Linked DNA regions of Homo sapiens: region 2 is linked to region 1. Evidence: promoter capture Hi-C in human tissues and cell types (Jung and others, 2019). All regions are on one chromosome and are shown on one strand. The core of a region is centred on a gene start or on the middle of the fragment in contact, and the rest is flanking DNA. Distances in the headings are between cores, read along the strand shown. Region 1 holds the start of FAM110B (family with sequence similarity 110 member B). Region 2 has its middle 33 kb from the start of LINC03133.

The links. The method cuts DNA at HindIII sites, captures the fragments that hold promoters and counts their contacts. A contact is called where the count stands out against the background at its distance.
Region 2: a fragment that was not itself captured here is called in contact with the fragment with the promoter of FAM110B in region 1 in 1 of the 25 tissues and cell types used here (aorta).

What each region holds. Positions count from the first base shown.
Region 1 is chr8:57,991,616-57,996,668 of GRCh38, reverse strand. FAM110B (family with sequence similarity 110 member B) reads right to left here and starts at 2,146. Exons shown (of 4, transcript NM_001377989.1): 1 at 1,863-2,146. RefSeq lists an enhancer at 1,195-1,695 and silencers at 1,700-1,749, 1,770-1,819. The HindIII fragment of the contact is 16,250 bases long and covers 1-5,053 here.
Region 2 is chr8:58,302,691-58,307,743 of GRCh38, reverse strand. No RefSeq gene overlaps it. Among named protein-coding and RNA genes, the nearest start is that of LINC03133, 33 kb to the right of the region's middle. The HindIII fragment of the contact is 6,947 bases long and covers 1-5,053 here.

The DNA.
Region 1 (5,053 bases), core at 897-3,396:
GGTCTTCCCTAATGTGGAGGCCTCTCTTTAAACAATTAGGCTCTTAAAGACAACCAGGTCTCCTTATGAAAGGCACCAGGGCATGACTGGGTTCAAGACTGATGTCTTGCCCTTAGAGATCCAATATATAAGATGAATTAAATCAACCCTCACCATGCATAAGGATACGCAGAGAAGCCTGTCAGTCATAGGCATAATAACAACCCAACCTCAGCCCTGATCTAAAATTAAAACCACAGACTTAAAATAGATCATGACCTAACAGATCAGAATTTTAAAAATCAAAACGACCATTTTCCAAACAGAAAATAACACATAGCTTGATAAGAAAAATTAAAAGTAATATTAGCTGACACCTAGAACTATATGCAAGGCACTGTTCTAAGCACTTTATGTCAGGCTAACAAGGCACCAACCACCTCTCTGTTCAATTAGTGACTTTACATGTACAATCTATAGTAATACTACAGATTAAATACCGTAGGGTAAACCAATGGGATGTTATCAGTGAAGGATTCTAGTTTACCATTAACTCACCTTTATTCTAGAATAACTATGCTTAATAAATAGCTTACCTGAATGACCAGGGGTTGTGATGTCACAAAAATGAGTACAAGAAATTAATACAAGTATCTTCCCAGAAATCACTACGTGTAAACTGGGGGGAAAATAATAAATACCTTCTTCACCAACAAAGGAAACGAAGAAAATGGAAGTCCTACTATCCATACTGCAAAAATGCTTATTCTACTATCATATTCCCTTTTGAGAAATAGACCAGTTACGCCAGAAGTGCAATGTTGTCACAGATGTGTGCCAGATTTTGCAGAGGACATAAGTTGGCTGTGAGGAAGAACACAGAGGTTGCCTATTTTTTAGGCAGGAAAGAAAGCCTGCACTTTTCTGTGTGTGTGTGTCAATAAATCTGAATAACAACTTGAAAGGGTTAAAAAGCTGAGCACCAGGTGTTTTCTTTCCACTTTCCAGAGTAATTTAAGCACACTGCAAAGTTATCTCCCTTCCTTCCCCACGAGCCAGCTTAAGGGAGACCTGTCACTGCCATTTACACTGTACAGCTCCAGCTCTAAACAATAGGAGGGCACCAGGCTGGGCAGCAGGCATCGCGGCTTCCCACAGCCTGTATGGGCTTTGTTGCCAAGTTATGAGCTCCGCTGGGTGATGGAGACACGAGTGAGCCAAGGAGAATTTAATTCTATTTCAAATCTGTATGCTTTCAAAGAAAATAGAGACAATTGAGGCCACGGGAGGAGCTGGAGGGGGTAACCAAAAACAAACTTTCGGAACCTCAGAATCTACATTTCTAGCAGTAATTCTCAGCAAAGGATTAGGTGGTATTGATACTCTCATAAAGTATTTAACACCGAGATTAGAGACCATTCAGGAGCGGTGGCCGAGCGGAGTCCCCATCCTTCGTAGTCCCACTCCTCCAGCAGCAACCGGCGGCGCGCTTTCGGAGCCCACCTCCGCTCCGCAGCGCGGCCAGCTTCCCCCCGCCCTGGCTCCAACCCCGGCTCCAGCCCCGGCCCCGTGCCCAGCCTCCTAGCCGAGCCCGGGACGTGCAGCCAAGCCGAGCGCAGAGGGGGCGCGGGGCAGGCAGCGGCGCTGCGCCTCCCCCGGCAGCCCAGAAAGCCGGACGGGGTCCGCCTGGGCCAGTGAGGCCGGGCTCAACGGAGACCCGGGCCGGGCGGGGAAGCTGCAGGCGCAGAGCCGGCTTAGCTCCGCGCCGCCTGGCCGCGCGCAGCTCCCGCATTGTCCGCAGTCGGGGCGCGGCGCGACCACTGAACCCGAATCCCAACCCCCGCCCAGCAGTCTCTCTCCCGGCCCCCACGGCCCAGTCTTACCTGGGCCGCTCACCCCAGTCCCTGGCGGTGCGGCCCGAGCCGGGAGCCAGGCTCCGGGGGACTGCAAGGAGGGAGAGTCGGGGCCCGCGAGGGACGAAGGGCCGAGAGCGGGCTGTAGGGGCCGCCGAGTGTTCACGGTCGCCGCCGCGGGGCCGCGGGTAGAGAGCAGACGGGGCTGGCGGAACGGGCCCAGGACGCGCGGCCGCGAAGGGCCCGGCTGGCGGCGGCCGCGATGGTTCGGTCTGCACCGAGTGGGAGGGCTCAGGCAGGCTTCGCCGGAGAGTGAGGGAGGGAACTTGGAGCCAGTTGCTGTGGCCGAGAGCGCGTGTCCCTGAGCCAGTGTACACGCCCCTCGTACACCCCGCCCCGCCTCCATCCCGCCCCCACCCCACCTTCCGGGTCCCCACCCTTCTCGCACCTCCACTCCAAGCCCTGCCTCTCTCTCAACATCTCCACCCCGCTACTGATGCCCATCCCACCCCATCCCTGACCCACCCCCCATTCCACTCGGTCGGCGCCTCCATTTCCTCCCTATCCCCCACTCCCACCTATGTCCGCACGCAAGCACCCCCACCCTGCTCCCACCCGGTGATACCGCTGGATCTCGGACTGCCACCCCAGTGCAGATCGCTCAGCACTGGAGACGTAGAGCCTGTGCCCTGAATGAGATAACCCCACCTGGTAGTCCAGCCATCCAAACGTCTTGGTGCTTGACATTTTCTGTTTACTAACTTTCATATACTCAGATGGAGCGTCCTAGCTTAATTTCTGAAGGCATTTTTAAGACTTCAAAAAAATGTTTGGAGAAAATAGTAAATAACGAAAAATATCAAGCATGATGTACTACCTCTGAAATGTGGGCCAGCTGATGTTTTAAAATGAAATGCTTTGGGGTGCGTCATTATTAATCGCCTAATATAGTATTTGAGAATACTTTCTGCTTAGATTTGCTTAATAACTTGGTTGTTTCAGGAGAGGATTTGTTTTAGGAAGACTAAACACATTGTAATTTAATTTTGCTATTGGGAAGTCTAAAAGATAAAATCCATCTTTATCAAAATGAATTTGAATGGGATATGGACTCACAAAATAATTGTTTCTTCTAGAAAATATTGAGCAAGGATTTCTTTTTAATCTCTGGTACATTAACAATACGATTTCACTCATCTCATTTTCTCAGAAAGATCGTTTATATTTGAATTGTGCTTCAATTCAATGAATCTATTGTTTCATAATAGTTAAGAAGTTGCCAACTAAATAAAACTCAGACTTTATAATAATATATTTTTTTTCTATTTAAAGATTACCATTTTAAGAAAGTGACATGATACTGGGATTTAAATGGAACTTTCCTTTGGCATACTAATACATTCCTTGTTATCACAGATTACGTTGTGGTCTCCATTAACTCCAAAAGTCATATAACAATAGAAATAAACTATTTTTCATCATTCCCATAGCAAATGGAACCAACTTCTCTCCCTCTCAAGTATACTTTTTTTCCCCACTTCTTTGCCCCAATCCCTTCCTTTTAGGAATTTCCCCCTCCCATTGGGTGTGACTAGCCCACAGAGCTTCCTGACATTGTGAGGGATATGACCCAGGCCAGCCAATTAGAATATCGTCTGAGAACAAAGGAGGAGGGTCCTTTCCCTGACTGACAGGGCAGCTCCTGGGACCATATCATATATGCGTGCAGCAGCTGGAGTCAACTTACTGGAGAATAAAACAAAACCAGAAAAAAAGCCAAACTGAGCAATGGAGACAGAAAAGTGCCCTGATGACATCAATGGCCATCCGAAGACAGTCACCTCTAAAACCAGTCAAATCCTGAACTTCTGAAGTAATGCACCAATAAATTGTCTTTCTTGCTTATGCCATTTTGAGTTAAGTTTCTTTCCAGAAGACTCACTTATAAAATCATAAAAGATTCCCCTATGATCGATGCTTTGAAAATCAGGAATGTAACCAATGAGTTTTAGCTTTCTTTCTTTTTTTTTTTTTTTTTTTTTTTGATGACAGAGTCTCACTCTGTCACCCAGGCTGGAGTGCAGTGGCATGATCTCCACTCACTGCAACCTCCACCTCCTGGGTTCAGCAATTCTCCTGCCTCAGCCTCCCGAGTAGCTAAGATTATAGGCACGGGCCACCACGCCCAGCTAATTTTTGTATTTTTAGTAGAGACGGGATTTTGCCATGTTGGCCAGGCTAGCCTGGAACTCGTGACCTCAGGTGATCCACCTGCCTCAGGCGCCCAAAGTTCTGGGATTACAGACGTGAGCCACTGCGCCGACCAAGTTTTAGCTTTTCTATTGCCTAAACTACTTCTTGATAATAAAGTATATGCCAAGGAGTTCACTTAGTAGGACCCCTAACTCTTATTATTAAGGTTCTCATTTAGGGTTTTACTATTGCCCAGTGTAGATTTAATAGCCCCAAATTGTCATCACCAAAACCAAAAACCAATAAAAGATGTGGTTAAAGAGACAGAGAGAACACAGTAAAACATCTATGCTGGAATATTTCAGTAAATATTGTCTTATCAATTATGCCAATAAAACTGCTCTCATAATCCCTAATGTTTGCTGATTTAGGACATAGTTTTCTTGTTTTGGGGACTGAAAATGTTAAGGACTGCTACAGATTTTCAGAGAATGTTGAAATTAGTTGTTTGTACTAGAATTTTATTGTGTTGTTTATTCTTCAGAAGTGGGCCATTATCCTAGGCTTGGAATTCTTTTGTTTCACAGAGGTTTCTGTCTCTAAAAGTATGTAACAATATTTGACTAGTACCCAAACAAGCATCCATACACGAATCAGAATGTAATTTAACCATTATTCACAGGTGACTCTGGACAGTGGGACTATTCCTAGCAAGCAGGGAGCCTAGGGACATGCAGTTATTAGCTCTAATCCTCTGACTGCCAAAATGGTTTCTTACGGGAAAATGTGAGCTTGAAAAGACATGAGCTCAGAGTTTTCACTAGTCTTTCTCCAGATGGGTACGTACCTAAGTTGTGTCAACAACTAGGGAAACTTTAAATGTATAAAAGCCCGTAAGCTGAATAATAACATATTATAAACAGATGCAAGCCTCACAAAAGGAGAGCATCTCTGAAAACAAAACAACCAAAGCAGCTTCAGAGGAAAAGTAAAAAAATAAAGAGTTCTGGAATCCAGTCCCCGCTCCA
Region 2 (5,053 bases), core at 1,433-3,932, 310 kb before region 1:
TGGAAGAAATTTCTAAGCAGCAAAGCATTCAAGAGTTGACTTGGGTGCTGTAAAAGGCATTCAGTTTTATAAGGGAAGCAGAGCATAAAAGTTAGAAAAATTTGCAGCCGGACAATGTGATAGAAAAAAAATCCCATTTTCTGAGGAGAAATTCAAGCTGGCTGCAGAAATTTGCAAAAGTAATGAGGAGCCAAATGTTAATCCCTGAGACAATGGGAAAAGTGTTTCCAGGGCATGTCAGAGGTCTTCACAGCAGCCCTTCTCATCACAGGCCTGGAGTCCTAGGAGGAAAAAGTGGTTTGGTAGGCCAGGCCCAGAGTCCCTGTGCTGTGTGCAGCCTAGGGACTTGATGCCCAGCATCCCAGCCCCTTCAGTCATGGCTGAAAGGGGCCGGCATAGAGCTTGGACCATGGCTTCAGAGGGTGCAAACCCCAAGCCTTGGCAGCTTTCACATGGTGTTAAGCCTGCAAGTGCACAGAACTCAAGAATTGGGGTGTAGGAACCACTGCCTAGATTTCAGAAGTTGTATGGAAACACCTGGATGTCCAGGCAGAAGTTTGCCACAGGGGTAGGGCCCTCATGGAGAACCTCTGCTAGGGCAGTGTAGAAGGAAAATGTGTGTTGGGAGCCCCCACACAGAATCCCTACTGGAGCACTGCCTAGTGGAGCTGTGAGAAGAGGGCCACCATCTCCAGACTCCAGGATGGTAGATCCACTGACAGCTTATGCCGTGTACCTAGAAAAGTCACAGGCACTTGATGCCAGCTTGCAAAGGCTGCCAGGAAGGAGGCTATACTCTGCAAAGCCACAGAGGTGTAGCTGCCCAAGACCATGGGAACCCACCTCTTGCATCAGCGTAACCTGGATGTGAGGCATGGAGTCAAAGGAGATCATTTTGGAGCTTTAAGATTTGACTGCCCCACTGGATTTCAGACTTGCATGGGGCCTGTAGCCCATTAGTAATTTTAGTTGAGTTTCTCCTATTCAAACTCATGGTAAGTTTTTCATTCATTCAGTTCTTTTCTTTCTTCTTTTAGTTGTGTTTCAGAATACTGTCATATAGATTTTGAACAATTCTTGTTAAGCATATCCCTATCCCTGTTGTGTTGGATCCCTTCTTCTGTTAGATTCTCTTGTTGTTGTTTTTATATATGATAGCTGTTTATTTCCATGTACTAATTTTGTACGCTGTCATCTTACTAAACTTTTTTATTATTTGCAATAATTTTTAAGTTATTCTCAAGTATTTTCTAGCTATACAGTTATATCACCTATGAATAATGATTATTTTATTTACTCTTTTCCAGTTGTTATACATATTAATTGCTTTCTTTTTTGATTGCTTTGGCTGGTACTTACCAGCTTGTTAAATAATAGTGGCAGGAGTAGACATCCTAGTCATGTTTCTGAATTTAAGGAAAATGTATTCACTATTCATAGATGTGCATGTGTGGGTGTGTATACACATACATATATCTATTTTAAGTAAATACCTATTTATATTAGATATTAAAAAAACCCTTGTTCCAATTTTTTTTAAAAAAGGATATCAAATATTTTTTGGATGTTAAATTTAATAAAATGTTTTTACAGCCTGCATCTATTGAGTTTATTCTTTTTTTTGAGACATGGTCTCACCCTGTTGCCCAGGCTGGAGCGCAGTGTCATGATTTCTGCTCACTGCAACTTTCACCTCCTGATTCTCCCACAATACTCCCATCTCAGCCTCCCAAGTAGCTGAGGTTACAAGTGTGTGCCACCATGCCTGGCTAATTTTTGTGTTTTTAGTAGAGACAGGATTTCACCATGTTGGCCAGGTTGGTCTCAAACTCTTGGCCTCAAGTGATCCTCCTGCCTCAGCCTCCCAAAGTGCTGGGATTATAAGAGTGAGCCACCGTGCCTGGCCCAAGTTTATTCTTAATGAAAATAATCCTTGTATTAGTAGCATAAACCCCACTTAATCAGATGCAATATTCTTTTACTTGTAAGCATGGATTCTGTTTGTTAAATATATTTTATAAGGTCTTTTTCATGAACATTTATAAGTGAGATTGATCTCTAGATTTATTTTCTAGTGTGGTTTTTATGGGTATCAAGATTTAAGAAAACATTTTGCTTAGAACAATTGGGAAGGTCTTCTTTATGTTATATGCAGGAACAGTTTAAAATCACATTAGAATTACCTGGAGAGTTTGCAGAATTCCCCTATGAAAACACCTGTGCCTGGTGCTTTTTAATAGAAAGAAGCCTCTAGATTATTTCCCTTATTTCTTCTATGAAAAATGATGTATTTATATTTTTGCTATATATCCTGAGATCAGTGATAGTAAATTATCTTCTTCCAGAAAAATATACATTCTGAATCTTAGAGTTTGGTTTTCTGAGTTTGTAATTGACGTTTGGTTTTATTGTATTATTGGCACGTATACTTAAAATGAAAGGGAATTCTCTTTACAGTATGTGTTTTAGTAACTAAAGCTATCTGATCATGTCATTTAAGTTTTTTAATGTCTTTGGTTTTATCTATCTGATAAAAATTAAAATCAAGGGAACTGATTAAAGACTCCCACTATTAATTTTTTCATCTATTTTTCATGCATTTTATCTGTTTCATTCATCTTATTGCTGTGTTGTCTGGCAAATAGGTACTCATAAACATCAGCTCTTTGTTGTGGGCTCTATGTTTCATCAAGTTAAATAGTATTTTAATTTTGTTGTTGTGTGAGTAAGTTTCATTGTCTTTCTGTTTTGTTCTCTGTAATTTTAATACTACTGCCAATATTATGACTTCTTAATTATTATAGCTTGAAAATAACTCTTCATATCTGGTAGAACAGTTTCCACCCTACCCTACCCATGTCAATAATTTTTCTTTGAAAATTTCTTCTCTCTTTTTGGTCATATGCTCTTCAGTGTAACTTTTGGGAGCAAATTGTCATGTTTCAAGATGTGTATATTGGAATTTTATTTAGAATTACATTATATCTATGAATCGCTTTGGGATCAATTGATAGCTTTACAATATTAGGTATTCCTGTCTATGAATACAGATCATCTCTTCAATTTGTTAAGTCTTCCTTAATGCCTTTCAGTAGCATTTTCTAACTTGCTATGTGTGGGTCTAGAGCATCTTTTTTTAGGTATATTCCTAGGTATTTTGTTAATATTCTTGCTATAATAAATAGTATCTTTCAAACTCATGTTTTCTAATTTGTTGTTGCTGATATGTAGAAACATGATTGACTCTTATACTGGCTTTTAATTTTTCCACTTTGCTGAGCTCTCCTCATATTTCTAAAGTACCATACTATCTACAAATAATTACATTTTTATTCCCTCTTCTAGACCATATGCCTTTTCCCCCTTTTTCTTGGCTTTGTGCTGGCTAGAACCTCTACTTCAAGCTGACTAGGAGTTATGTTAGTAGACATCCTTGTTGTATTCCTGATTTTAAGAGTTTGCTTATGATATTTTCTCATTTAAATAACACTTTTTAAAATAGTGTACTTTATCAGGTTAACAGGCTCTCAATTAATTAAACATTTTAGTTATGTATCGTTGTCAAATCCTTCAAATGCTTTCTTTTTGTCGGCTTTAACTGATTTTTAAAAATTCACTTTATAGACAATGATGAAATTAGTATATTTCAACTAAATCTATCTTTCTCGAACTTCTCTGCCACTGATTTTTAGTTGATATTATTTAATGTTTGCCTTTGTGTTTTAAAATATACTTATCCTACTTTTAACTTAGTCTTTTTATCTCTTTTGAACTTGTTATATTAAAGATGAGAAAGTCTGTATACTTAAACTACCTTCCGTGTTCTCTTTATTCTTTTACCAAATATTTTTATTTGTATTTATTCATCATCAGTCTTTTAACAGTCACATTTCATTTTGTAACTATAATCTTTTGATTTATTTCAGTATTCAGGTAATACTTACATTATATTACAGTTAAATAATCATATCCATTCCCTTTCCATCGTTTCTACTTTCACCTTTTAGCTGGCTGAAATATATCCTCTAGTACTTTTTCAAGAAGGGCCCTTTGCAAGTATGTTACCGCTTCCTTTTTTCTTTAAATCAGTGTTTAGCTGGGTGTAAAATTCTTGGTTTAAAGTTTTTTCCCTTAAGATAAAGTTAGTTTATCATAGTTTTAAATTTTAACAGTGGATATTATTCTGGAGAAATCTGAGGGTAGCCTGGATTTTTGCAATTATAGGTGTGAAACGGTCTTTCTGCCTAGATGATCAAAAGATTTTTGAGTATGTGTCTTATTCTTTATCCCCAGCATTTTATTTTGAAACATTCCAAAACTACAGACGATTTGTAAGAATAGCACAATGAATATCCATATATCCCTCACCTAGACTCACCAATTTTTAATATTTTTGTCACATTTGCTGTAATGTTTTTGCTGTCTATATATAGTGTCCACACATGCACTTTTTTTGGTTGAATCATTTGAAAGAAAATCAAAGATAGAAAACTATACCCGTAAGTACTTCAATATACACCTACTAAAAATAAGGATATTGTGCATAACCACAAGACTAATATAATGTTCAAGAAATTTAACATTAATGACAAAATATTTTCTAATAAACAGACTATTTGTAAAGATCTGTCAGGAAAGACATTTCAGATGCCTACTCTGTAATCTATCCTGGTGGCTAGCAACTTCTTTTAAGACAGTGAAGCTTCATATTTCAGATCTATGGCTCATTGAAAATTCTGATTCTCCTGAAAAATGTCTGTGTGGGAAATGACACACTCAGGACTTCATGTGAATTTAAAAGGTCCACAAAACCTCTGAGTCCATGTGTGAAAACACCTCTTGGGAGGAGGAGGGCCATGAACTCCAGCTGAAATTTTCTTAATGCCCCACCTAAATTCTTGCTTTTTGTTTATCTACCATTTCAAGATCATGGTACTTAGAAAAGATGGAGAGAAATTGCTCTTATATCCACCAACATTTTGTTCTCATGCTTCTTGCAGGGAATGTGGATTCTGCTGCTGCTGTTGCTTCTTTGCTTCTTCCCCTCCCGGCT